Regions from separate parts of the Homo sapiens genome. Here all the other regions are linked to region 1. Evidence: promoter capture Hi-C in 16 types of primary human blood cells and fetal thymus (Javierre and others, 2016). All regions are on one chromosome and are shown on one strand. The core of a region is centred on a gene start or on the middle of the fragment in contact, and the rest is flanking DNA. Distances in the headings are between cores, read along the strand shown. Region 1 holds the start of ZNF24 (zinc finger protein 24). Region 2 has its middle 78 kb from the start of MAPRE2. Region 3 overlaps MAPRE2 (microtubule associated protein RP/EB family member 2). Region 4 overlaps GALNT1 (polypeptide N-acetylgalactosaminyltransferase 1). Region 5 overlaps MAPRE2 (microtubule associated protein RP/EB family member 2).

Region 1 (5,639 bases), core at 1,428-3,927:
GCATACACTGTGGACACCTTGTTGCTGAGGGGTTAATGCCATGCTGCAGCTAAGCCTTGTTATAACCTGCAGCTGTACTCTAAGAGGGTAAGGCAGAATGGCTCGTTGGAACCCAGGAAGCAATAGAAACTGCCTCATGATAGTCTCTTTGGAAGACAGAGAGCTGAGTGGGAAATGGCCTTGCACTAGCTGCTTACAAGCCTCTCATGCACTCATCTTCTGGGAAGATCCCAAGGTGTTCTGCCAAGACTCAGATCAGCTGTGGTTCAGGCATTGCCTATGTGGCCTATGTGGATATGTGCAAGGTTGTCAGGCCCGGGTATGAAGCTGCTCCCTCCATTCAGGTTGTCCAGAGGAACATGTTTTATCTTGACTAGATCTTTAAGATGGCAACAAGGGCCACCATTCAGGAAAAAATCCCAGAGGACCTCAGAAGGATGGTGTTTCAAAGCGGGTGTTAGTAGCCCCTGCCCTCAAAGGAGTAACTTAGTGAGGAAAACCTTACTGTGGTTTCCATTTAGTAGTTTACAAATAATTAATAATAATAGAATGGAGGCCAGGCACGGTGGCTCATGCCTGCAATCCTAGCAATTTAGGAGGCCAAGGCAGGAGGGTCACTTGTGCCCAGGAGTTGGAGAGCAGCCTGGGAAACATAGGAAGAACTCATCTCTGAAAAACAAACAAACAAACAAACAAATTAGCTGGGCATGGTGGAGCACACCTGTTGTTTAAGGACTTATCAAAAGTGTAAGTCCAGCCTTCCATAAGCATTTCAAGATAAATTATTACAGCATAAAATGGAGGCCTTTAAATAGGAGAATGAAGTGGTTTGATTTGTAATTTTAAATGATTGCATCAACAGCTGTTTTATGGTATAAAATGCCCAGTTAGGAGGCTGAGGCGGGAGGATCACTGAGTCTGGGAGGTTGAAGCTGCAGTGAGCCAAGACTGCACCATTGCCCTACAGCCTGGGTGACAGAGCAAGACCCTGTCTCAAAAACAAAACAAACAATATAATCACAGGAAAAGGGTTTTGTAAAATTTTGCAACATTTTTAACTTCCTCAAGGTTAGGTTTCAGATTTATTATTTTTGTTTTCCAACATTAATTAGATGTAAAAACTCTTAAAACAAAAATGCCTTCAGCTAGCCTTTACAAATCAGATAAGAGGGAAAGGTTGGGAAGAGCAGCCAAGTTGCTTAGGGGCCGTATCCAAGTAGCAGAGTGAAAAGGCTGTACTTCTGAAGCTTCCTGCAATGGAGAGAAGTGTTAGCAGGGGTTGTGAGAAGAGCTCTGGTCGGAATGAAAAGCAGTGGTATACCATCAGCTGCTCGCTCACTTGCTCTCTCATGCACGAATCCAGCGGAGCCTGACGGCACTTTTCAGAGGGCATTTTCTCCAATGAGGCAAAAAGTCAAAGCCTGAGGATCTTGAAATGCTTATGTTAGGCTGGATCTACACTTTTGACCAGTCCTTAAACAACAGGGCTCCTTTGTGTGGTGTCTGATGCCAATCATGTGACCTAGCTAAAGGCAGCAATGTAACCATCCCACAATTCATTTATTTATTCAACAAATATTTATTGAGTTCTCTATTTACCAGGCAGTCAGCTTCCAGGATCTAGGATGGGATACTGTGGTGAGCAAGACAGACAAGGTCCCTGCCCTTAAGGGACTTAAAGACAAAACAAAACAAAAAATAAAACAAGTAAATAAATGAGATCACTTCCATTAATAACAGTGCCATGAAGGGTCATGCGCCATGAAAGGCAGGTGGTGAGGCTGAGGATCTTGGGCCACAATGAGCCGAGGAGCTGAGGTGACTGGGGGCGCCAGGGTCTGGGGGTGCGGGCAGGCAACAGACCACAGGGGACTTACAGGCCATTATAAGGAGTTTTTATGTCATAAATTATTATGACATAAATTGGAGGGCTTTAAATAGGGGAGTGAAGTGGTCTGATTTGTAATTTTAAATGATCGCGTCAGCAGTTGTTTTATGGTATAAAATGCCCAGCTTTAAGATGACCATGCATTCTACAAATTCACCGTGACATCACTGCCAAAACTCTTAACCTGTCTTATCTAGTTTTCCTGACAGATAAATAGGTCGGAATAAAGCTCCATGACATAACTAGTGGGAGCCAAAGATTTGAATCACGTCTTGGTTTCAAATCTTGCTACCCACAAATGAGTTGTGAGCTCTTGTCAGGTTATTTACTGTATTTGTGCCTCAACTATCTCAGCTGTGAAATGGGGATAATGAAAGTTCCTACATCATTTATTTGTGGAAAAAAAAATGACATGTAAAGCACGACGAGAGCGCCTGGCACAATGTAGTAAGCTTTCACAAACACTCACTTTCATTCCTTCTTGCAGGGGATTACTGAGAGGATCCACAAGATAATGCACGTGAAAGGGCTTGCGAAATTGTAAGGACTATCTTAATGGTAGAGTCCTCTTTATGTTTTCTTTTAAACGGTCCAGAGGACGCTGGGCTGTTCGAGGAGAGGCGCGAGGCCAAGCGCAGCCTCAATGCGGTCATTGTCGTGGGGCCGCCCCTCCCCCGCCCGGGGCGCTTCTCCATGGCAACGTGGGCTTTACCTCTCCCCGCCTCCTCAGGCCCGCAGACCGGAAGCAGCCCGCGCCGGGGGCTTCTGGGAAAAGGCTTGTGAACGGCGTTTCTGCGTCTGCCGTGGACAGCGAAGCTGCTGCGGTTCCTGAGCCGGAGGTTTGCGCCGGTGTGCGGGGAACGTTATGAGAGGGAGGGGGGACACCGGGCTAGGGTCTGCGGACCTCTTAGCAGGAGCCGGCGGGGAAGCCTGTCCGGGACCTTCCTCAGCTTCCCGGGAGGCGCGGGGAACAGGCCGCGGTCTCCGCGCCTAGCAGTTGTGGGGCGGGGAGGGGTAGGCGGCAGGCCTGCTTGGGTCTTCGGCATTTGCAGAGAGCTCTCTAACCCCCTGTGTCCTCCGAGACCCTCACCTTCCCCCTCCCCCACCGGCCGGTTTTGTTCTATTTCGAGGCCCTGGCGTCTCGCGGAGGGTTCTGGGAGTCGTGATGGGAGGGGGTGGTAGTGGGACGAGACTTGCGCGGGGCTTCTGGGATTTGTAGTCTCACCGGCCGCAGGCGGAAGTGCCGTGGTTCCGACGCTGTTGTCACAGGGTGGCCTTTGGTCATCTGAAATCCGCGGTCCTGAGTGCTGGGAAGAGGGGCTAGAGGACGTCGGGCCGGGGCCGGGGCCGGGGCCGGGATACACAGCAGGTCTATGCAGCAGTAAGGTGGGCGATCCACCTGGGACGAGGTACCCTGCCCAAACATTGTCGGGACCGTGGGCCTTCCCTCCATTTCCCACAAGCGGTATGCTCTACAGCATAAAAGGAAGAGAAAATTATGTAGAAATACTTGCACCGTTGATAAGCAGGGTCTTGGAATAGGAACGAATGAATGTTGGCTAGACCTTATGTATAAGGCCACCACACTCCAGGGTATTTAATTAAACCAGTATGTATTACTTGTCTGATAAGGCCTTTTCTGATTCTAGTCTTCATCTTGCTTGGGTTACAATAAGTTTTTTTAAGTTGTTATTGTTCAGATTTTGGGCCCTGAATAAATAAATAGGCTGAATGGCTCATTGCTAGTATGTGTCGTAAACAACAGCACGGGCATGATCGTGCAAATAATAAAGGTCCAGAAGCAGTATACAGTTTCACTGAAGGTAGAAGCTGGGGAAACTGTGAGTCCTCCAGTGTAAGGACAAGACACTGGACCACTGCAGGAAGTCAAGGTGCTTATGCGAGTGCCTTTTCTTAATAGAAGTTTCTGTGATTAATGCCTATCATTATAAATATAAATGTACGTATGGTGTGGTGGAAGACTGAATATTTACGTATTATGTGCAAGATAATTTTTCAAAATTATGTGATGTTTTTCACATATGATCTTTTCAATATTATGTGATCTGCTACTCAGCAAGTGAACATTTTTTCACATATAAGTCCAAGGAGTTCTTAAACACCTTAAAAATATTTTTTAAATGGTAAAGAAAATTTTTTTAAGCACATAATAATAAAGCGAACCTTCCTTTTGAGTTGACTTGTGTGTGTCAGGAAACACCAATCCTGAATTGGAAATAATGCGTTCCAGGGTCAGGCACATTTAGAAAGCACTGAAGTAGTCTGGTTCTTACTTGGATTCTTTTGATTATTGACATAGGGTTTGTCGTCTTAGTAGGTCATGATTGGCAAACTTTTTCTGTAAGCGGCCATATAGTAAATAAGGTCATGCATAACTCAACGATAGTGCTATGGTCTGAGAAATATGTTAGGCTATTTCATCCTTGTGTGAACGTCATAGAATGTACTTGCACAAACCTAAATGGCGTAGCCTACTACACACTTAGGCTATCTGGTATAGCCTATTGCGCCTAGGCTACAAACCGGTACGGCATGTTGCTGTACTGAATACTGTAGAGAATTGTAACACAATGCTAACTATTTGTGTATCAAAACATAGAAAAGATAAGAGTAAAATATGATATAAAATGTTTGAAAAAAAAAAAAGATATGCCTGTACAGGGCACTTACCATGAATGGACCTCGCTGGATTGGAAGTTGCTCTAAGAAGTCAGTGAGTGAGTGGTGAATTTGGAGGCCTGGGACATTATTGTACATTCCTATAGACCATATAAACACTGAACACTTAGGCTACACTAAATTTATTAAGAAAACATTTTTCTTCAATAATTAACCTTAGCTTACTGGAACTTTTTCACTTACAAACTTTTACATTTTTTTTTAACTTTTTTACTCTTTTGTGATAACACTTCACTTAAAATACAAACACATTGTACAGCTGTACAAATATATTTATATCCTTATTCTGTAAGCTTTTTGCTTTTTTTTTTTTATAGACAGAGTCTCGCTCTGTCGCCAGGCTAGAGTGCAGTGGCGCGATCTTGGCTCACTGCAGCCTCCACCTCGCGGGTTCAAGAGATTCTCCTGCCTCAATCTCCCCAGTAGCTGGGACTACAGGCGCAATCCACCACGCCCAGCTAATTTTTGTATTTTTAGTAGAGACAGGGTTTCACCATGTTGGCCAGGATGGTCTTGATCTCTTGACCTCGTGATCTGCCTGCCTCAGCCTCCCAAAGTGCTGGGATTACAGGCCTGAGCCACCGTGCCCGGCACAGCTTTTTGCTATTTTTAAATTCATTTTTTAGAGACAGGGTCATACTCTGTTGCCCAGGCTGGAATGCAGTGGTGTGATCATAGCTCAGTGGAGCCTTGAACTCCTGGTCTTTAGTGATCCTCCTGCCTCAGCCTCCTATAGTGCTGGGATTACAGGTGTGAACCATTGCACCTGGCCAATTTTTTTTTTCTTTTGGAACTGTTTTTGTTAAAAGCTAAGATAAACACATTAGCTTAGGCTTACACAGGGTCTGGATTATCAGTATCATTGCCTTCTACCTCCATATCTTGTCCCACTGGAAGGTTTTCAGGAGCAGTAACATACATGGAGCTGTCATCTCCATAATAACAGTGCCTTCTGTAATACCTCCTGAAGGACCTGCCTGAGGCCATTTTGCAGTTAACTTTTTTATTTAGTAAGTAGAAGGAGCACACTCTAAAATAATATAGTATAAAA
Region 2 (5,639 bases), core at 2,050-4,549, 380 kb after region 1:
TTTTGAATGAACAAATGAATACATAAATAAATAAAAGAATAGATTCATAAATATATCCTGATTTGAATTTTTTTCCTGTTGTTTTAATCCAAATCATCTTTACCACGTTGTATTATTTCTCCGTAATTTAGTGACTCTGTTTTTTAGAAACACTATGTAACATAAATTTATTGTAAGATAGTAACTTTCACACATTCAAGTTTCAGTCATTCAGCATGTAGGAGAAAATGTCCTTCTAAGCTTCTTTTAGCTAACAGACATCCTGAAGACAATAAACATCTTATATGAGTCTCCAAACAAGAGGTAGGAAAGTTAAGATTAGTCTGAAAAGTAAAATGCATCATTCGTAAGAAAGAGTTTTCTTTAGAATATGGAAAATAAGATTTAAAAGGAAGGCATAAAATGCAGTACATAACAATAATAGAACAAGAGACATTAAAATGAATTTCTTAAAGGCAATGAATATCTGTACCGGTGAAGTGCTAATCATACGCTACATTTCAAGGCGTTGCTAAGATAGCATTTAACCACATCCACAAATTAATTCTTGCCATTAGAGTATTAACATTTCACAAAATGTTTTTCTCCCGTCTAAATTCTGGGAAGAGCAACTGGGAAAAAAGCCACTTAATTGTCTCAGAGAAATCTAGCTGCTGTGAGCTGTATGTTGGCTCTGGGGATATGGATCAGGATTTCTGTAAATGAGGATAATGGATAGAGAACAATATCTGCAGTGATGGGAGAGTTGGGCCCTGAAACTCCCAAATCAACTGTGCTTTGGAGGAACACTCACATGCTACCATGTGTTTCCTTTGTTCTCCAAGAACATCCATTCTGTTCATCACTCACAAGCACACATTTAGTTTTGTCTCATAACTGGGAGTATGAGTAAATATAGAATACAAAATATGTTCTTACTGAGATACCAAACAGGTATATTCATAACTCCTCCTTTCCTTTTATTTTCTTTGTTGATTTTCTTTCTTACAAGAATCTTACAAGATTAAACAAATTTTAGACAAGTCACAAACATTACTATGTTAGTTTAATACAAATGCATGTTTATAATAGCAATGACAACATAGGAACAGGGATCAGGAGTCCATGTCACTGCCACAGAAACCTTTATGATGGTTGCAGATCTTTGTGATTATCTCCAGAACAGTGATATGTTTTGATGCCAGGTCAGACTCTGGCTAAAGGCCAAGTTAGCAACATGCTCTTTTATTCATAATGAGCTCTAGCTTGCATGAAGTGGAACCAAGTGCGACACTTTTGATCCTGGCTTCTAGAAACCTCAGATTCCAGAAACAGTGTCTGACTGGCTTTTTCAAATCAGGAGAGAGCACTGTGTAGTTAAAGAAAAAGAAATCATCAAAAAGCCCAGAAACAGTCAACTAGTTAAACAGATTGTAGTTCAGTTATGTGATGGATTATTTGGTAGCTGCTGAAAAAAATCAGCAGTTAAATATATTTAGGTATTTACGTTAAAGATACTTAGGGGCATGGAAAAATGATCACTTTAATATATTACGGGACAAAAACAAGATTCCAAGGTTTTGAATCTGATATATGCAGTGTGATGTCATTTGAGTAAAGTAAGTTCCCATATGTTTTCATACATGTAAAAGTAAGTAAATAGATAAAGTTGAATAAAACATTTTAAAATGGTGATATTCCTGATTATAGGGGATTTCTATTTTTTTCTTTTTATACTTTTCCCTTTTTTTTTTTTTTTTTACGGAAGCTTACTGTGTCTCCCAGGCTGGAGTGCAGTGTCACAATCTCACGATCTCGGCTTACCGCAACCCCCACCTCCTGGGTTCAAGCGATTCTCCTGCCTCAGCCTCCCGAGTAGCTGGGACTACAGGCACGCACCATCACGCCCAGATAATTTTTGTATTTTTGTAGAGACAGGGTTTTGCCATGTTGGCCAGGCTGGTCTCGAACTCCTGACCTCAGGTGATCCACCTGCCTTGGCCTCCCAAAGTTTTAGTAGACATTTTTATTGGCTTTTGTGTGTCAAAAATAAATCAGTCTCTCTCTTTGTATATGTAGTTGTGTGTATGTGTGTGTGTGTGTGTGTTTGGCCTGTGGTGCTGACGCCAAACAACTGGGCACCACTGCCTAGCCAAGTTGACTAGTAAAATTAACCATCACACTTTTCAAGCATTCATTTTTACATTCTTTTTTTTTAGTAATAAGAAAATTTTTCAGTTTTCCCTGTTCGGTCCCTATACATTTCATGTACATTTTCACTTTCCTAAAAACGGTTACAATTCAGGTGAACTGAGATGACTTAGATGACCTTAGCAGATGAATATTACAATTTTTACTTAGAGGCCGGGTGCAGTGGCTCACGCCTGTAATCCCAACACTTTGGGAGGCCGAGGCGGGTGAATCGCCTGAGGTCAGGAGTTTGAGACCAGCCTGGCCAACATGGTGAAACTCCATCTCTGCTAAAAATACAAAAATTAGCCGGGAGTGGTGGCAGGTTCCTGTAATCCCAGCTACTCAGGAGGCTGAGGCAGGAGAATCACTTGAATCGGGGAGGCAGAGGTTGCAGTGAGCCAAGATTGCACCATTGCACTCCAGCCTAGGGACAAGAGTGTGACTTCATCTCAAAAAAAAAAAAAAAAAAAGATTTTTTACTTAGAATGCTAGGATAGAATTTCTGTCTCCATTGTAGTGTAGGGGGTGCAGATGGGAAACCTGGAACAGATACCACGAAAGAAGCTTGTCTCAAGAAGGCTGACACAATGGGAGACATAGCAGGGAGATGGAAAGAAACTGCTGTTGTGATAGCCATTAGTTCCTGAATTAAATCAACTCTACCCTCTGTTCTTCCTCTGGATTTTCAGTTACACACATTTTTCTTACATAATCAAGCTTTTCTGTTACCTGCAACCATATTTCAGCTAATACTCAGTATTTTTCAGGTTTTTAACAAATATACATTACTTTTATGCTAACAAAATAATTATTATATTCATTGATTCTAAGACAAACTTTTTTTTACCTTTTAAAATCCTTGAAATTGGCATGTATTATACAATCCATGGCATGTCATAATTTAATAGAACTTTCTTTCATAGGATACATTAAAAAGTAATGTTGCGAGGCACAGAAAGATAAATATTACATGTTCTCACTCATATATAGAAGAAAAAAAGTAGATCTCATGAAGATAGAGAATAGATTGGTGGTTACCAGAGGCCAGGAAGAGTAGGGGAGAGGAGGAAATGAAAAGAAGTTGATTGATGGGTACAGTTTGATAGATTAAATAAGACCTACTGTTTGATAGATGAGTAGGGTGACTATACTTTACAATAATCTATTGTATATTTGAAGATAGTTGAAAGAATAATTTGAATGTTTCTAGCATAGAGAAAAGACAAATATTTAAGATGATGGACATCCCAATTACACTGATTTGATCTTTACAAATTATATGAATGTATTATCACATACTCTGAAATTATATACGTCTATTATGTATAATAATAATACGTTGATTGTCATATTCAATGATGCTTTAGACTTGATGAAAAACAATAATGTTTTAGACTTGATCAAAGTATTTTTTAAGAAAGATGGAATGCCAATGCCCAGGACACCTGGAAGGATATGGCATATACTACTGGCACCATATAGCGACCTGGATGACCCCACATTTCTGGATTGGTCCAAGAAGAAATCAGAAGCTTAGAACTTGGCTTTGCTGTACTGCTAAGGCTAACATAAGCTAGGCTGACACAGAACACTTTATTATTGCTATTAAAATGAGAGCAAATGTTTTCCTTTCAAAGACTGTAGATCACTGCTTGAAATGGCCTAGCAGTACATAATTTTTAGTATCTATTTTCTTTTCAGTTTACTATATTGTTTTATATGACTTTTTGTTTCAAATGGCTTCAAAATCAACTTCCTCAGTCATGCCACTTCAAGCTCTCACATACATGAGCATTAAATAGTAAGATCATATTATGCACATGTGCATATGGTGTTAAAACACTTTTCAATCTATTATATAACTAGATTCTGTAACATTTTTGTGAGTTAGGCACGGTATTATGATCCCTTTAGTATTCAAGAGACTTTCTGTCACAGAGTAGTTGGTGTAGAGACAGGACTTCCAATGGACTGGAAAGAAAGGGCTGATGAATGAAGTTTTATTGCGTGAAGTTATGACCTGTGTCATTAGCAAAGATAGAACACAGTTTTAAAGTTTTTGAACCCTGGTTCAAGGTTATGGTCATCAATTCATGACTGTCTTTCTGTTCACGTACATATTCTGCCATTAAAATATCACTGGAGAACCGAGGCCATTGTGATTCACTAATTTTTAAAAGATCCTATTTATTTTGTGATAACTCATGTTATACCGTAAACACTCAACAATAAACTATTTCAGGAACTAAAATCTTCAATGCTATTATAATTTATTGGATTAATTTCAATTTTAAAATGGTTTGGAATGTGTATCTTTGACCAGAATTGGCTAACTATGTCTATGATAGTCTTTTATATCATAATAAAAATTGTATGAACAGTAACAGTGTACAAAAAATTACTTCTGCAATTCTATGAGCTATGAGTAATGTTAGTGCTGTGACAGAATCTATCAGTATCTGTGATAAAATTTATCAGTGGCAAATAAAATAAATCATATCCTCTGTTCCGTGATTAACATAGAATTTATGTTAGCACAGAATTCACTTTGAAACACGTGATCTAAATTTAATATGTTAATTTAAGCAAAATGTTAACACAATCATTTTCTCATTTTTATTTAGTTTGATAATGGTTCTATGTCTCTGAGAGAGAAACTAAATGTTTGCTTATTCATTCAACAAACACTTGTTAAATGCCTCTCCCTCATTTTTCATCACATTACCTGTTGAATTTTCTTCAGAGTACTTGTAGCTATTAAAAATTATTATTTATTTATTTATTATTTTTTTCCCATGCTAAAAGTTAAATTCATGAAAGCAAAGAGATTTTCTTTCTTGATTACCACTGTATTGCTAATGCCTAGAGCAGTGCCTGATATAGAGAAGGGGCTCAATATATTTTTTGTGATGGCTATACAATATGAGTGAGAGAGAGACCTCCTGATATACTGGTGTCCCAACTGAGCCTGGCCTGCCAGTCATCCTCACCAAAGCACCAGACATGTAAATAGCCACCTTGGATGTTCTAATCCAATTGAGTCCAGAAAGAGTGTACCCCTAGCCAATATCATGTGGAGCAGAAGAACCCTCCAGTTGAGCTCAGTCAACCCACAGAATAGTGAGAAGTTATAAAATGGTTGCTATTTTAGGACATTGAATTTTGGGGTGGTTTTTGAGTGCATCAATAGGTAACCACAATACTACTGGGTTTTTTTGCTTTCTTTTTTTTTTCTTTTGGAAGAAGTGTTTTTTGTTTTGTTTTGTTTTGTTTTCTTAAAAAAAGGAAAGGATCTGGGGATGCCAGGAAGTACAGGGTGGTAGGAAGTAAATCAGTTAATAATTAAAATATGTTGTTGTTTCAGATCTATCTTTCTTTTAAATGTTTCTGTGTATTTTTCTGTTCATCCTTTTAACCACACTCACATGAGAAAGAGAAAATTTCAAAAGTTTTACCTTTAAAAAGAT
Region 3 (5,639 bases), core at 757-3,256, 280 kb after region 1:
TTTAGCATCTTTTTCTATTTTACATATTTGCATTAAAATTATTAAATTTCACATATTTTTCATGCAGTACCATTTTATATCTCTCCAACTAAATCCAAATGTTCCTCAGGTTCTGAGATTCCTAATTTATAACACAATTTAGAGTCTCCCTTTTGACTGTAAGTCTACGTGTGATATTAAAAAGTTACCAGGTTTGTAGCAGTATACACCAGAGTAATCTGTTAGTTTCATACATTATTTCAGTACTCACTACAAAGACTTGGAAACGTTAGTGTTTTGGGGTTTGGCCATTCTAGTAGGTGTGCAGTGATAAAGGATTCTTTTTTTAATATTTAAACCTGGATGAAACTTTGCAATTTTACCTAGTTTGTGGAATATATATATATTGATATATTGTATATGTATGTTTATGTATATATTGTAGCTATGTATTAACTTCTATTTTGGAAACTTTCAAATACATGCAAAAGGAGAGAGAAGAGAATAACAAACCAGTTAGGTTTACCCCTTGGATTCAAGAATTATCAATACTTGACCATCTTGTTTGATTTATACTCCTATCAACTCCCCTTGTGTCAATCCCATCCTAGCCTACCAAGCCAGATTATTTTGGAGTAAGTGCCAATAATCACATAATTTCACCTATAAGTGTTTCAGTGTGTCTCTGAAAAATAATTTTTAAAAAAAACAGAATATTATCACACCTAAAAATGAAAATAATTACTTATATCAAATATGCATTTCAATATATTATAATACAAATTTAACTTCAGATTGCTTGAATCTGGATTCATATAAGGTTCATACATTATGATTCTTTGATACATTCTTTAAATTTCTTTATAAAGTTTCTTCTCTATTTCTAATCTTTCCTTGCAATTAAAAAAAAAGTTGTTGTTGAAGGAACTAGGTTGTCTGATAGTTTCCACATTCTGGATTTTTCTCATTGTATCACACTGCTGTGGTTTAACATGTTCCGCTGTCCTCTGCATCCCTACAGACTGATAATTCCATCTAGAGCCTTGATCTTATTCAAGTTCTAATGGGACGGGGATTTGATGCCATCTAGCACAACTCTGGGCTTTGACACCTAATCCTCCATCAATACACTGCCTGGTAATGCAAAAGCTTTCCATTACTGCCTGAAGAAGAAACCAATAGAACAGCCCATCAGCTGCCAAAGGTTATGCCAGTATATGACAATTGCATCAAACAGACTATTTCACGCCGTGTTTGAACTTCCATCAGAAGGCAGATAACTATTACCTCTGACTGCCTGCTTCCATGATATTGTTAGCTCTGATATTTGCCTAGATCCAATAATTCACTAAAACTTCAAATATTCTATTATTCATTCTTGATTTATTAGCTGGAATAATTCTACAAAGAGAAGTTTCCCCCTGAGGTACCCTGAGATACAGGTCATCGAGGAAAGGCAGGAGAGGTGCCTAACTCTTTTTCTCTATTTGCCAGTTTTCAAAGTGATGAGTAGTTCCCTAATATTCTCCAAACATGACCAATGAAGTTTTTGTTCTTATATTTTGAAGTATAATTATGAATCCATGGACTTAAACATATTTGATATGTTTCAATCCATTGAAATTATACCTTTATTGATAAAAGCTTGCAAGAGCTTATTCAAGCTAGCCTCTAAGTTCTTTTGACACAGTCTTAGTGGTCTTTGATAACCTTCTTCTTTTCCAATATGACGAGATGTTCCAAGGCCAACTTGTATATTTCTTGCCTCAGACCTAAAACCAGTAATTTCTCCAAGCGCTCCTGATTCCTTTTAGTGAAAAATGGTATTTACAGATATAGAAGTAATATTTTTAAACATGACTAGATATAATAGCAAAATCTATAGTATATAGGTTTTAGACAAAAATCTACATTTTATGAAATAGTTGTGTTTGGAGTTCCTATTTATGCTCATGAAAGCAATAAAAATCTGTTTTCTACTTTAAAGTGCTAAATGAAGGTTTCATTTAGAAATAAATGTAAAAATAAATATCTATCACTCCATTCCCAGAAGCACCCTTATCTCTAAATTGTCTTCTCGTAAGGATCTGAAAAATCTCACAGCATAGGAATCTCAGATAGTGTGACCATAATTACTGCTTTGTACACCATTATTGAAGGTTTTTTACTTTTTGGTTAATAACTTCCACTGTTTTCTTTAGTCTATCATTTATTAAACGAAACCATTTGCTTTTTAAATGTAGTCAATTTTTAAAATCATCTATGTAAATTATGTATAATCTTAGTAAGGGTAAATAATTCAAAATTTAAAATATTTTGGACTGATGAAATGATCATATACTGGCATAACTTTTGGCAGCTGATGGGCTTTTCTAGCGGTTTCTTCTTCAGGCAGTAATGGAAAGCTTCTGCATTACCGGGCAATGTACTGATGGAGGATGTGGTGTCGAGGCCCAGGGTTATGCTAGATGGCACCAAACCAAATTGAGATGAAATTTTTAATCAAGATGATTTAAAAAAAATCTAAATGCAAAGCAGAAAAGACACAAACAGATCTGTGTTTTAGAAAAATAACCCATACACAAGTGAGTAAAAACGTTCTGTGGTTACATAAGAGAAATTAATATACAACAGAAGTACAGGTAGAAGAGTAATGACAGCTTTTTAAAAATCCATATAAACAAGGAAGCAGGTCATTTGCTGCAGTTTGTCAATAAATCACACTTTCCTCCAGGTCTTTGCTGATAACATTCACTTAAGGACAACAATTGTCCTTTCATAATGTAAACAGACATTCAGCTCACAAAGGTAAGTCAAGGCACTATCTGCCTTCAAGCAGTTCATTAAGATGATCAGGTAAACAATGAAAACAGCACCAGATCTGGGCTTTAGAAAAATTCTGGGTACTTAGTTACCAGGCATACCACTCAAATCTCCACCATTGCTAGCCAACACAGCTGTAGTCCTCACAAGCCCTGTGGCAGGGGCTACCATGTGTTAAGGGACCTGTGGGATAACTAGTTTAGAAGACAGATTAAGAATAAGTGAACCAATGAAGGCAAGAAATTTTTCACCATTTCCTAAAATAAAATAACAACACATTAAATGAGTAGACTTCAATACCTACTTCAAATTAATAACAATGAAATCAATATAGTTAATTTCTATTTAACACCCCTGCTGATGGGAATATTCTTATAATCGATCTTCCTCTTTCCAAATTTCAGCAAGGTACTTCTAAGCGCACTTCACTCTGTGGCTGTCTTTGCTCCCAATGTTTGCCCCGAACCCAAACAAGCCAGCTTTTCCGATTTTAGGCCTGAGAGTTCTGAGTCTGGACTCACTTTCCCTGGAAGGGGAACTGTCCTGAACCTCCCGCAAGTGAAGTGTCAGCCAAAGTGGAAAAAGGATTCTATTCCTGCACTGCCATCCACCCTTTTGTTTTCCCAATTCTTTCAGCTCCTGCTTTTTCTACAGGTATGCTTTCCATATAGTTAAACTTAAATGATACAAGTGGCTACAACATTCACAGAACATTTATATATTTTTTCCAAATGTTAAACTCAGGTGAGAGAGTATTAAATTGTCCTAGTCCCTAGGTGGATACATTCTAAAATCCTAAGATTTCATTATGATTTCTGGGGTCTCAATCTATATGACAATATAAAGGTAAAAGTACTTGTCCCTACCTAGTCTGCAGAAATGCTGTGTGGATAACACAAGGAAATTTTATATCTTTTTAGAGATAAAGTGGTTCTATTGACCCTTGGAAGAATCCTGGGAGGAAAGCAGGGCAGGAATCATACTCTTCCCTTACAAAAGTGGACACAAACTTCAATTCACGACTGCTAGTCCTTAGGGATATTACCAATTACATCAACATCCTATGGAAGGTAGGAATTATACAATTCAAAAAGCTAATTTTTAATTCATGGAGTACTTCCCAAAGACTCAGTCAAGAAAGATAAATGGTTATGAAAGGTAAGGTCATACTAACTATTACAGAACAAGGAGCAACTCACTGTGCGGGGTTTATTCTCATGTTTGGATCTTCAGCATGTCTTTTACATGGAAACAACAGTTTATTCTTAGGTGACTTGCCACATGGCCTCTGGGACATGAGCATCTCTCTGTCCCATCCTTGCAAAGGAGAAAGTCAAAGCGCTGTCTCCCACTTTGTGGCTTTCAATTGGAATCTCAACCAGATCACTGTGTTGTTTAAGACCTGGTCAGTGCAGGCCAGGCGCGGTGGCTCATGCCTGTAATCCCAGCACTTTGGGAGGCCGAGGCGGGTGGATCACCTGAGGTCCGGAGTTCGAGACCAGCCTGGCCAACATGGCGAAATCCTGTCTCTACTAAAAATACAAAAATTAGCCAGGTTTGGTGGCATGCGCCTGTAGTCCCAGCTACTAGGGAGGCTGAGGCAGGAGAATCGCTTGAACCCGGTAGGCAGAGGTTGCAGTGAGTTGAGATTGGGCCACTGCACTCCAGCCTGGGTGACAGTGAAACTCCGTCTCAAAAAAAAATAAAAAAGATAAATAAATAAAAATAAAGATCTGGTCAGTGCAACAGCACAACAAGCAGGAGATAAGGGAGGAACACTTTCCTAGCACTGCAGTCCCTGGGTCACCACACTTTAATATTGTATTTAAATTTTATTTTAAAACAAATTTGCATTTATTGCCCCTACTTGAAAATAAACTAATAATCACAATATAGTTACACACTTTTTACATGAATATTAGAATAGCTTTCTTGGAAGGTGGGAATACACTTTTTGTTTTTTTTTTTTTGAGACAGAGTCCTACTCTGTCGCCCAGGCTGGAGTGCAGCAGCGCGATCTTGGCTCACTGCAACGTCTACCTCCCTGGTTCAAGCAATTCCCCTGCTTCAGCCTCCCAAATAGCTGGGATTGCAGGCACATGCCACCACGCCCAGCTAATTTTTTTGGTATTTTTAGTACAGACAGGGTTTCACCATGTTGGCCAGACTGGTCTGGAACTCCTGACCTCAGGCCATCTGCCCACCTTGGCCTCCCAAAGTGCTGGGATTACAGGCGTGAGCCACCACACCCAGCTGGTTTTTTGTTTTGTTTTGCAAACAGAAGAGAGAAAAACACACAGAAAAAACAAAAATCCCTTCAGACCTCTAGCAGGCAAAGTCACGATTCTAGCTTGTCTGTGGATAGTGACCACTGATACACATGACTTTAGAAAAAGGAAAGCCTCCAGCTGAGGGCCAATGTGTAGATTTTGCTCAGTTTCATCCTTTATTCAGTATTTGGCGGTGGTGTTGGGTGGAGAGGTACAGCAAGGTTATGCTTTGCAGTAGTGATTGAATCAGACACATTAGACACTGTATTTCTGCTTACTACAATAAATGGAGTTTTATGTGAGTCAATGAGACCTGAGTTAGCCTACTGAGCAAAATATGAATTCTACCACCTTTACCAGTTCTGCACCTAAAGCTTAACTACAAAATACTCAACAATTTTGTTCAAGAACAAATTTGGCAAGGTTTGTGAATTATTCCAGAGAAGTGGCTCTTCAAAATTAAGCAAATATATAATATGTGCTAGCTAGCATTATGAGTGTTAACTGAAATTATTTCCTATGTAATTCATTTTGTCTCTCTGCCCTGCCCCACCCCTTGCAAACACA
Region 4 (5,639 bases), core at 909-3,408, 270 kb before region 1:
GACATTTGTTCACTTAACAAATTTGTTAACTGCCCTACTATATGCCAAGCATTTTACCAGACCATATGAGAACAAAGATGAGTTAGACAACATCACTGTCCTTAGGGAGGAAATGGTCAATATAAATACCTGTAATAAATGATTCTTGGTGGTGTGAGAGAAGAGTCTAGAGAACAGTAGCCACAGACAGGAAATGGAGGGGGGAGCTGTCTGAATGCCTGCAATGCGCCGCTTGCATTACATTCACCCGTCACTGCTGCTCAAATGGGGAAGGAACTACTCATAAAGTTTTGTTTGTTTTCATACCACACCTCACTCTGGCATAAATGAGTCAGGATCTATGGTTACAGGGTTCCTCAGTGGCTTAGGCATTAGAGAGAGAATTTTATCCTAATAACAACCCTTTCAAGTGGGTTTTATCTTCATTTTCAGCTGAGGAAGCTGAAGAGTCAGAAGTTTGAGGGGTGGACCATACTAGAGGACTGGAAGGTCTGAGAAGTCACAGAATTTGAAGAGTGGTGCCAATACAAAGGAGGAGAGAGCTCTGAAAAAGGAGTCTGAGACGATGCTAACTGCCACAGAGAAAGATTACGTGACACTGGAAGCTGTTTCTGCCAAGTATTCAGCAAGCTACCATGAATGTGGAGATTAAAACACAACACTAAAACACTAGAAGGTTTTACAACCTGTGCTAAGCAAAAGGAATCAAACATTACTCAAGACTTCAGGTGAGGATATGCAAGCCTTAGTACTTCTCATTAGCCATATGCAATGCAGGTCAGATAAAAAAAACACCCAGTGTCCAAAGCAATAACAGCTATATTTCTTTTAATAGAGATATAAATTAAACAGGAGAATAAAAGCATAACAACAATTACCAAGCACTTACTGTGTGCTGAGCACTTTGATGGGCACTGTATAACAATACTCCCAACAACCCAGTAAGCCAGGTACTATTATGCACACCATCTTACAGATAGGAAAACTGACACTTTAAAAAGTTAGGTAATTTGGCCAGCGTCACATAGACTATACATGTCAAGGCCAGAATTCAAAATTAGTCAGGTCCCAGCAACTATGATGAAACCCACAAACCTGTATCCTTTACCTTGTCTACCTCTGCAATTTACATAAATTAAATCATATTATAATGTATTCTTCTGCTACCTTTTAAATCCAACATTACGTTTTTAAGACTCATCCATATTGATGTAGTTCACTAACTTTGGTGTCATAGAGCAAGGGGTGGCAAACTAGTATTTTTGTAAATAAAATTTTATGGGAATGCAGCCACTCTCATTCATTTATATATGGTTTACAGCTGCTTTTGCACTACAACGTCAAAGTTGTTGGCCTTTACAGAGACTGTACGGCCTGCAAAGGCTAAAATACTTACTATCTGGCCCTTTACAGAAAAGTCTGCCAACCTCTGCCATGGAGTAGTGCAGTGGTATACTTGACAATGTCCAACTTTTACAATTTTGTCAATGTAGCTTTAATTTGTATTTCCCTGAAAACAACTGTTTACTGGCTATTCATTTTTCTCCTAAGAAACAGCTCTTGCTTTCTTCTGCCATTAACTGTTTTCACACTTACGTATGTATGCGTACTGACATATGGGTGTGTGCATTACTGATTCTAAAAATCCTTATCCTTTGTATGCAAAATATATTCTACTTGTGTATTTGTGACTAGTCTTTACACTCTCCTTTCCATGCACACAAAACCCAAGAGATCTTAATTTTAGTACAGCCAAATTAATAAACCTTTTCCTTCAACAATTGTGCTTTTGGCTTCCAAAGCCTGAGGTCTAAAATACTCTCTAATATTTTATTCTGGAGGCTTAAGTTTTGCCTTTCACAATCTAGTCTTTAATCCATCTGAAATTGCTTTTTTTAATACAGTGTTAGTAAAAACCATTTTTTAAAATGTGGCTAAGAATCCCAACCATTTAAAACGTATTCCATTTCCTTGATTTGTAACATTAGCTCTGTCATGTATTAGCTTTCCACGTACTTAGAGTTCTGGTTTTTGCCTTAACTTCCTTCCATTATCTATTTGTCTATGCTTGTCCAAATATTATGCCATCTCAATGATTAAAGTTTTACACTATCTTAAAATCTTGTAAGACAAGTACTTGCTTCAGGAATGTCTTAGCCATTCTTGACCCTTTGTATTTCCAAATAAATTTTAGAATTAACTGGTCAAATTCCACAAAAACAAACAAAACCATACCCTGCTGGGTGTTTTTTTTAATAGCAATAAATTCATATATTAAAGACAGATTAATTGATACGTTTATAGGAAACCTTCTTTCTATGAACATGGTATGTCGTCACATTTATTTAGGTCTTCTTAATGTCCTTCGATATATTTCTATACCTTTCTATTTAAAGATCTTGCCCTCTCTTTTTCTATTTATTCCTAGGTGGCTTTTTATTTTTTTTACTATTGAGAAATATTTTTATTACATTTATTATTGTATGCTGCTAGTTTAGAGTAATAGAACTGACTTTACCATAATGATCTTCTTGTTGATTAATTGGCATTCCTTGCAGATTCTGGATGTTAGTCCTTAAATTTTACTATATCAATCATATATTCGCAACTTAATAAACTCCTGAATTTTCTATGAAGGTACTTATATTCACTCTAAGGAATGACCATTCTGTTCATTCCTCATAGCCCTGTAGCTCTTTGTTGCTTTACTGCACTAACTCATATCTCCAGTGCAATTGTGAAGAGGCAGGGTAACAGTGGGCATCTTTATATCGCTGCTGTTTTTCAAAGGAATACCATTAATGTTTCTCTATCAAATACTATGTTTGCTGTAGGTTTTTCACAGATGCCCTTTGTCAGGTTACAGAATTTCCCTTCTGTTCTTAGTTTGTTATGAGTTTTTACCATAAAAGAGAGATGAATTTTAATAAATTCTTTTTCTGTATATTTTAGGATGATATGGTTTTTTTAACTTTAAACTGCTTGTGTCGATAATTACATTAATAGTCCTTCTAATGCAGAACCAAGCTCGCCTTCCTGGAATAAACCCTTTGTTCAATATCCAGTATTTCCTTTATACACTGCTGAATTCAACTTGCCTAATTATTTTTGATAGTCTTTTGCTCTTTAGCCGTATTTTATACTCTCTAAACATATTAAGCATTTATCTTATATTACATATCTGACAACTACAATATCTGCAATGTTTGAATGCCTGATTACACGGTCTCCTTGCTCTGCTGATTAACTCATGGTTTATATAAAGTGTTTTTGGTTTTTTAAATTGTGAATGCATTTCTAGGAAGAAACTTTACCTGTGTCAATTCTCTGAGGCCTGTGTTCCTGTATTTCTCCAGTGAGGATTTCATTTGATTCTCAGTCCTGAGACTGAGACTACTTTTCACTAAATTCTTGGCTTGGTTGTTTTTTTTTCCCCCACCATTAAGGTAGTATGAACTTCAACCCCAAATCCAGTTAGAGTGGAACTGCAGTTATAATTTTTCGGGGAAGGTTATTTTACCCTTCCAGTGAAAAGCTGAAACAGGCAACCTTGTTCCTATGCTCCCTACCCTATACTTTTCCAACCACTGAGGGATAGGTTTTTTGCTTTTTCCTAGTTAAACCCACTGACAGCTTTCAGGGAGCTTCAGCTTTACACAAAGGTCTCTGGATCTTACTTAGCAACTGCTTGATCCCTAGACACCGTCTGGTACCCTATGGCCACCCTGCAAAAGCCAAAGTTCTGGGTTTTGAAGGACTTACAAATACCAGAACCCTCAGCACGGGAGCCAGTATCACTACTAACTTACCTCCCTGGATTCAAGATTTCTTGTTCTGGGCCTCTGGAAAGTTTCCTTACCTCTTGTCAGCTCAACGATGCATTTAAAAGATATTTTGAATATTAAGTCCAGTATTTTTAACATTTCATAATGTGGGACCTTTTTTTTAACCTCTACTCTGCCACGCTGCCAGAAACAGAAGCCTCTTAAAGTTTTGAATAGTCTGCTGAGTATTTTTCCCCAAAAGAAATGTACATCCACTTCTAGAAGCCAAAGGAAAAGCAATTCATTGAATTAACAAATATATTCTAGGCACTCAGTACGTATCAGTAAACTAAACAAAGATCAATGCATTCAAAGCACTTCTGTAGGAGCAGAGTAGGAGACAGGAAATAATAAACATAAGTAAACTAGATTATAGCACAGAAGGTATTGCAATGGAAAGAAAGAAAAATTGAGTAGTCAGGTAGGGAGGACCATGAGTGCCTGGTGGAGAGGAGCTGCGATCTTAAACAAGGTAGCTATTACTAAAACATTTCTTACTTCCCTATAACATACCACTGATTAATTTTTTTAAACATAAAATTTTAAGAAACTATGGGTACTTTCCTCCTCTCCTGGTGTGAGGTATGATGGAGAGCTGCCTACGGATTTTTTTTTTTTTGAGACAGAGTTTCATTCTTGTTGCCCAGGCTGGAGTGCAATGGTGCGATATTAGCTCACTGCAACCTCCACCTCCTGGGTTCAAGCAATTCTCCTGCCTCAGCCTCTCGAGGAGCTGGGATTACAGGCACCTGCCACCATGCCCAGCTAATTTTTTGTATTTTTAGCAAAGACAGAGTTTCATCACGTTGGCCAGGCTGGTCTTGAATGCCTGACATCTGGTGATCCATGCCTTGGCCTCCCAAAGTGCTGGGATTACAGGCGTGAGCACCACGCCCGGCCTAGAAAGGTTAATACTACATGACTCCATCTACTTCAAAGAAATTGGGGCACACTTTAATATTAATTGGAAATGCTAAAAAATTTATGATGCTATTTGTTCAAAAAAATTAAACAAATATAAAAATAAACACGATAGGCTTAGAGTGAAGCTTTTACTGAAAAAATGGTTAAATTAGCAGACTTATCTTTCACATTTCTAAAGATAATTAGAATTTAATTAGTATCACTATTAGGCAGTTCTTTTGAATTTTAAACCTAATCCAGAAGGCAAATTGTCCAATTATATCTCCTTCTATCTTTCATGGAGATGTACCCTATTTTTAACTCATTAAAACAGGTTTTTTCTCTTTTCATAAGAATCATGTGTGAAGTTATTAAATCACATCTTAAAAATATTTAAATCCAAACCTAAGACAGTATTTTGCAGCCTTATAATTATTTTCATTACTTTTCCCTTTATCTCTCAATTTTTCCTTCTCTTAAAATGTAGACAACAAAGCTAGAGCTCATATTTTATATAAACACTGTGATATAATTACATATAATAAATGATGTCTTTTTTAATGATACAGGTAATAAATAATGATGGTAATGAGGACACTTTATATTGCCTGTCAGATAAAACTCCCAAAGGGCAAGGCCTACAAATTTAGAGACAGGATTTTTGTGTAAAAACAGAAGCTTTGTGGGAAACTTTTGTCAGGATCCTTTTTTCAAGACAAAAAAGATTAGAAACAGTTTTACACAGAAACAAAACAGACTGAGTTAAGAATGTTTCCCAAGGCAGTCAAACACTGCATTTACCACAACAACGTATTACCATTAGCTGGTGGTGGTGCTGCCTAACACAGGGTCCAAGCTCTAGGCAGCCTCTGGCCAGCTGCCATTCCCTCCACTCTCAAGACCATGAGAATT
Region 5 (5,639 bases), core at 1,696-4,195, 260 kb after region 1:
TGTCTGCAAACAATTTGACTTCCTCCTATTTTTTTTCTTTTTCTTTTTCTTTTTTTTTTTTTTTGAGACCGAATCTTGCTCTGTCTCCCAGGCTGGAGTGCAGTGGCGCAATCTTGGCTCACTGCAACCTCTGCCTCCCAAGCTGAAGCGATTCTTCTGCCTCAGCCTCCTGAGTAGCTGGGACTACAGGCACCCACCACCACAACTGGCTCATTTTTGTATTTTTAGTGGAGACAGGGTTTCACCATGTTGGCCAGGCTGGTCTCAAACTCCTGACCTCAGGTGATCTTCCTGCCTTGGACTCCCAAAGTGCTGGGATTACACGCGTGAGCCACCATGCCCGGCCCTGAGTTCCTCCTTTCTAATTTGGATGCCTTTCATTCCTTTCTCCTGTCTAATTACTCTGGCTAGGACTTCCAGAACAATGTTGAATAGAAGTGGTTAAAATGGACATCCTTGTCTTGTTCCAGATCTTATCCTAGTAAAGCTAGGATATAATTCATATACCCTAAAGTTCAACCTTTTGAAATGTAAAATTCAGTGGTTTTTAACATACTCACAGAATTGTTCATCCATTGCCACTATTTAATTCCAGCATATATTTATTACTGCCAAAAAAAAACCCTTCTTACTCATTAGCAGTCGCTCTCTATGATCTCTCCTCCCTCCAGGCCCTGGCAACCACTAATCTATTTTCTGTCTCTATGGATCTGACTATTCTGGACAATTCATATAAATAGAATCATATAACATGTGGCCTTTGTGTCTGGTTTCTTTCACTCAGCAAACTCTTCTCAAGGTTTATCCATGTTGTTCCATGTATCAGAACTTCATTTTTTTTCTTTACAGCAAATAATATTCCATTTTATGAATTACCACATTTTACTGATCCATTCATTAATGAACATCTAGATTGCTTTTATGTTTGGACTATTTTGAGTAATGATGCTACAAACAGTTGTGTACAAGTTTTTTCATGGACATGTTTTCAATTCTCTTGGCAGTATACCTAGGATTGGAATTGCTGGGTCATGTGGTAACTCTGTTTAACAATTTGAAAAACTATCACACTGTTTTCCAAAGCAGGTGTACTATTTTATATTTCTACCAGCAACAGATGAGGGCTCCACATCTTCATCACCACTTGTCTGTCGTTTTGATTCTAACCATCCTAATGGATGTGAAGTGGTATGTCACTGTGGTTTTGCTTTGATTTCCCTATGACTAATGACTTAGAGCATCTTTTCCTTGTGCTTTTTAGGCCATTTGTATGTCTTCTTTGGAGGAATGTCTATGCACATTCTTTGCTTGTTTCTTAAATGGGTTGCTTTTTTATTGTTGAATTGTAAGAATCCTTTCTATATTCTAGATATAATTTCCTTATCAGATATATGATTTGTAAATATTTTCTCCCATTCTGTGGACTGTTTTTTCACTTTCTTGATGGTATCATTTGAAGCAAAAATGTTTTATATTTCAATAAAATCCAATTTAGCTATTCATTCTTTTGTCACTTGTGCTTTTGTTGTTATAACCAAAAACCACTGCATAATCCAAGGTCATGACGATTTATACCTCACGTTCTTTGAGAAACTGCATAGTTCCTATCAAAGTTCAACTCTCTACTTGTGCTCTGGGTCACGTCTCCTCTTACTCACTGAGTCATTCCTGCTGCTATCCTCATTCTCTCCTGCAATGCAAAATTCTTCCTGCATATGTTATTCCTAAATCCTGCAAATATGCTCCAGTATCATTCAACTTTGACAAAATAAAACCAAAGTTTCTTGATCCCACATCATCCTTGAGCTATGTACTATCTCCTCCTCTTCACAGTAAAACTTCAAATGGTCTCTGTTTTCATTGTTTCATCTGACATCCAATTCAATTTAATACAAATTCAATTGTCTTCCAACCTCACCATGTTCTGGTCAAGGTCATCAAAAGCTTCTCTGCTATCAAATCAAACAGTTGTTTTTCTTTCTGCATCCTACTCAACCTCTTAATAGTATTTGGCCTTATTGACCACCTCTTTTGCTCTTGAAATTCTATATTTTCTTCTTTAATCAGATAAAAATAGATGTCAACAAACTGAAATATTCAGGAATCATTGCCAGTGTCCTGGAAGTCTTACCCAGCCACAAATCAGAATGTTCCTCATCAACAGATACACAGACTTTTGTGCCATTTAACTACCCTTGCAATAATGTGAGGTACATTTTGAATAAACACAATTTTATCTCATTATGCCACGGTTACCCTTATTCAGATCACATCCCTCTCCTGCTAAGAATATCACAGTGGTTTTCTATGAAACTATCATAAAATCCAAATTCCTTCCCTGGCTTAAAATACCCTGTTATCAGGCCTCTGTCTATTTCTCCCTTGTCTAACTTCCTTTTAGGAAGCTCCCTTCATGCTGGCTTCCTTGCTGTTCCTAGAACACTTCAGATTTGCTCCTGAATTAGGACCTTTACACAGTTTCATCTAGAACTTCACATGGTGACCTTCTTGACATTCAGATGAAAGCTTATATGTCATCTCCTCAGAGAGGTCCTCCCTTACTATGCCACATGAAGTAGCCTTCTAAGCACTCTTTTTCACCTCATCCTGTTTTATTAACTCTTATGTTGGCATTGTATTAACTCTTATGTTGGTGCTATGGTTTGGATATCCCCTCCAAAATGCATGTTGAAATTTATTTGCCATTGTGATGGTAATTAAGAGGTAGGACCACTAAGAGGTAAGCAGTCCATGAGGGTTCAGCCCTCCTGAAATGGATGAATGCCATTCTTGGGAAAGCAATTCGTTATAAAAGGGCAAATTTGGCTCTTGTTCTCTCCCCTATTGTCTCTTGCATTTCTGCCATGGAATGACGCAGCATGAAGACCTTTGCCAGATGCTGGTTCCCTGATCTTGGACTTCTTAGCCTCCAGAAGAGGAAGACAATAAATAACTGTTCATTATAAATTACCCAGTTTGAAGTATTCTGTTATAGCAGCATAAAACAGACTAAGAGAGTTTGTGGCTTATTTTTTCCCTCGCTGCAATATAAGTTTCAAGAATACTTGTGCCTTATTTGTCTTGGTCCCCTATGTATCTAAACATTTAATACAGTACCTGGCATAAGTGGGTTTCAATAAATATCTGGCTAATGAATGAAGATCTGCATAGCAGTTGAACCACAACAAGGGCTGGTAAACAGTAAAATTCTTATGTTGCCAAACTCCCCAAAGAGATATTATGAGAAGAGTTGCTAAAAATTCTTTTAAGAATTGACGAGGTATAAATAAAATTTTTTAAAGCCACTCAAATATAAGAATGACCCTAGAGACCAAGTCTGCAGAAAAGTAAAAGATAAGCTTTAAAAGCTAAGCATAGGGTAACACATTCAAGTAACACAACCCAAATTGTAGGATGCTGTGCCTACTAAGAGGTTAATTATGATGGGATATACTCTGAGCCCATAAGCTCAAGGTGCTGCTGCAATTGTGAAGGTCTACAAGATTCTGAAATGATCTGGAAATAAGTAGGGGGGAAAAAACTATTCTTTCTACACTGTCTGTACCCCTGCAGCCCTAAGATTGGTTTCAGTTGTTATACATCAAAATTGACATAATGAAGCTGACAAGTGTGAGGACAGGAATAAAAAATGAACAGCTGGGAGGCTGTATGAAGATGGCAGAGCTCAAAAATGAACATTCATACTCAAAGGATTCAGGAGTGTATGATTTAAGTCTATAAAATCATGAAAAGCCTAAGACAATTTCATTTTCACCAGATCCCAGGATTTCAACCATAGAGTAATATCAGAATAAATGGACATTTTTAAAGTGGAAATTTTCAGATAAAAGGAAATATTACTCTAATAACAAATTTATGGAATATATTACGCAAGAAACATAAGACATAAAAACACCCACATTTGGGTAAAATCTGTTAGCGTTTTCATATGTATTTTAAACATTCTGAATCCCATAGTATCCTTAAGAGGTAAGTATTTTTATTATCATTCCCATATTTTACAGGTATGGGAACAAGGCTCAGAAAGTCACCCAGCTAAGAAATTGCAGAGTGGAATTTAAACTCTGATCTGAACTTCAATTTTTTTTTTTTAAGAAAAACATTCCTTTTTTCTATGCTGCTTTTAGGAAATTATATGTAAAAATTGAAAGGTTCAAAGAGTGTTTGGAAATTTTTATAGATTAAGTTTTAGAAATTTTTATAGATTTTTATAGATAATTCTAAAAGGAAATATAAAGGAAAATGCAAGAGAACATATAAATCGTTTGGACTGGTGTTAGAAGTATCAGCTATACCTTTTCTATTTATAGTAGAATCTTGGGCTTGATAGATCATTAATCTGCTCCAATGTCATGACTTTCCATTTCAGTATATATACACTCATAAGAATTTCATTTTACATATATACAATGTGTATATAAAAATAAACATCATCTCTATATATAATCTTATTGATCGCCCATATATATGAGATACATATCTATATATGTATCTCATATATACATGTATATATATATCTTATTGGTGTCAAAAAAAGTCTCACAGCACTTTTCCAGAAATGCAACACAATCTGTGGAAAAACACATCAAGCCAGATTGGGTTCTGCCACAAACAGCTACTCAAATTGCCCATCTGATTTCCTCACAGGCCAAGGAACTATTATACAGAGATGCCTATATCACTGAGGGATTTAGTTACAACTTTTCACTTTCCATAATCTTATTTGGTACTGATGAAAGGTTAGAAGAAAAGCACAACAACCTCAATTAATTGGACACATCCATGTGATCATACTCTTCATGATGTGAATCATTACAGGTAAATGATTTGTAAAAAAGCTTATTATCTCAAGCTAGTATCAACAAAGAATGGGAAGGCAGGAAACAGAAAACTATGTTGGCCTTTGGATCTGAGCCTTCTCATCTTGAATGAACAGTGACATGTCGTCACACTCTGCTAAGCCAACAGTATTCTTATGTGCAAAACGTCAGTGTTGGACTGATCTCTGGTCTCTAAAATTAGATGATTTTCTAATTCTCAGTCTGTCACCAAGTTCTCTTTTAAGGGATACTTGATATTTCTGCTAATTAGGAGACAATGATGCTCATCTTCATATGACCAAGATGTTTGCCAGTGCTCTTGCTTCTAGCCATCACTGGCTTTTGTCATAGTTAATATAAGAGGAGACTTACTAATAACACTGCTGCCTCTGGTGGAATATTCCTGGGGGCACACACACCCTTTCCAGATTCAGTTCTGGTGACCCTATCTTCCATGTACTTCTCTTTGAGATCTTGACATTAACAAACTCAGTAACATAGCCATATTTTCTATCCAGTAGTTGAATATTAGCAATGAAAAATCTCCTTCATATTAGATTGTTCATACGCAATAATCATAAAGTCATCCCAGCTTTATTTTGGCATTCAGCTCATCATTCCTTGAACTGATGTTCCTGCAGAACTGCAACTATTACCTAAGCCCAAACCTCGTGTTGAAGGAAGCATTCCCCTTTGGGAAATCAGGGCTTTACTAAAGAGGAAAGTGAGGCTGCAAAATACAAGGTTACATATTTCCAGCACATCAGCAGAAATCTCTCTACCTACAGAAATACATGC

What was found. The method cuts DNA at HindIII sites, captures the fragments that hold promoters and counts their contacts. A CHiCAGO score of 5 or more calls a contact.
Region 2: a contact is called between a fragment that was not itself captured here and the fragment with the promoter of ZNF24 in region 1, in 1 of 17 cell types (non-activated CD4 T cells). The highest score is 6.5, in non-activated CD4 T cells.
Region 3: a fragment that was not itself captured here is called in contact with the fragment with the promoter of ZNF24 in region 1 in 1 of 17 cell types (total B cells); the score reaches 6.7 in total B cells.
Region 4: a contact is called between a fragment that was not itself captured here and the fragment with the promoter of ZNF24 in region 1, in 1 of 17 cell types (total B cells). The highest score is 5.6, in total B cells.
Region 5: a contact is called between a fragment that was not itself captured here and the fragment with the promoter of ZNF24 in region 1, in 1 of 17 cell types (non-activated CD4 T cells). The highest score is 5.5, in non-activated CD4 T cells.

Annotation. Positions count from the first base shown.
Region 1 is chr18:35,341,458-35,347,096 of GRCh38, reverse strand. ZNF24 (zinc finger protein 24) reads left to right here and starts at 2,677. Exons shown (of 4, transcript NM_006965.4): 1 at 2,677-2,737. It overlaps LOC124904283 (a long non-coding RNA gene), which reads right to left and starts at 3,043. Exons shown (of 2, transcript XR_007066337.1): 1 at 2,358-3,043; 2 at 1-669. RefSeq lists a silencer at 2,450-2,619 and an enhancer at 3,300-3,359. The HindIII fragment of the contact is 2,541 bases long and covers 2,343-4,883 here.
Region 2 is chr18:34,960,869-34,966,507 of GRCh38, reverse strand. No RefSeq gene overlaps it. Among named protein-coding and RNA genes, the nearest start is that of MAPRE2, 78 kb to the left of the region's middle. The HindIII fragment of the contact is 815 bases long and covers 2,892-3,706 here.
Region 3 is chr18:35,064,431-35,070,069 of GRCh38, reverse strand. The region is part of intron 1 of MAPRE2 (microtubule associated protein RP/EB family member 2); the gene reads right to left. Among named protein-coding and RNA genes, the nearest start is that of MAPRE2, 26 kb to the right of the region's middle. The HindIII fragment of the contact is 761 bases long and covers 1,626-2,386 here.
Region 4 is chr18:35,611,670-35,617,308 of GRCh38, reverse strand. The region is part of intron 1 of GALNT1 (polypeptide N-acetylgalactosaminyltransferase 1); the gene reads right to left. Among named protein-coding and RNA genes, the nearest start is that of MIR3975, 23 kb to the right of the region's middle. The HindIII fragment of the contact is 5,434 bases long and covers 1-4,875 here.
Region 5 is chr18:35,085,157-35,090,795 of GRCh38, reverse strand. The region is part of intron 2 of MAPRE2 (microtubule associated protein RP/EB family member 2); the gene reads right to left. Among named protein-coding and RNA genes, the nearest start is that of MAPRE2, 47 kb to the right of the region's middle. The HindIII fragment of the contact is 833 bases long and covers 2,529-3,361 here.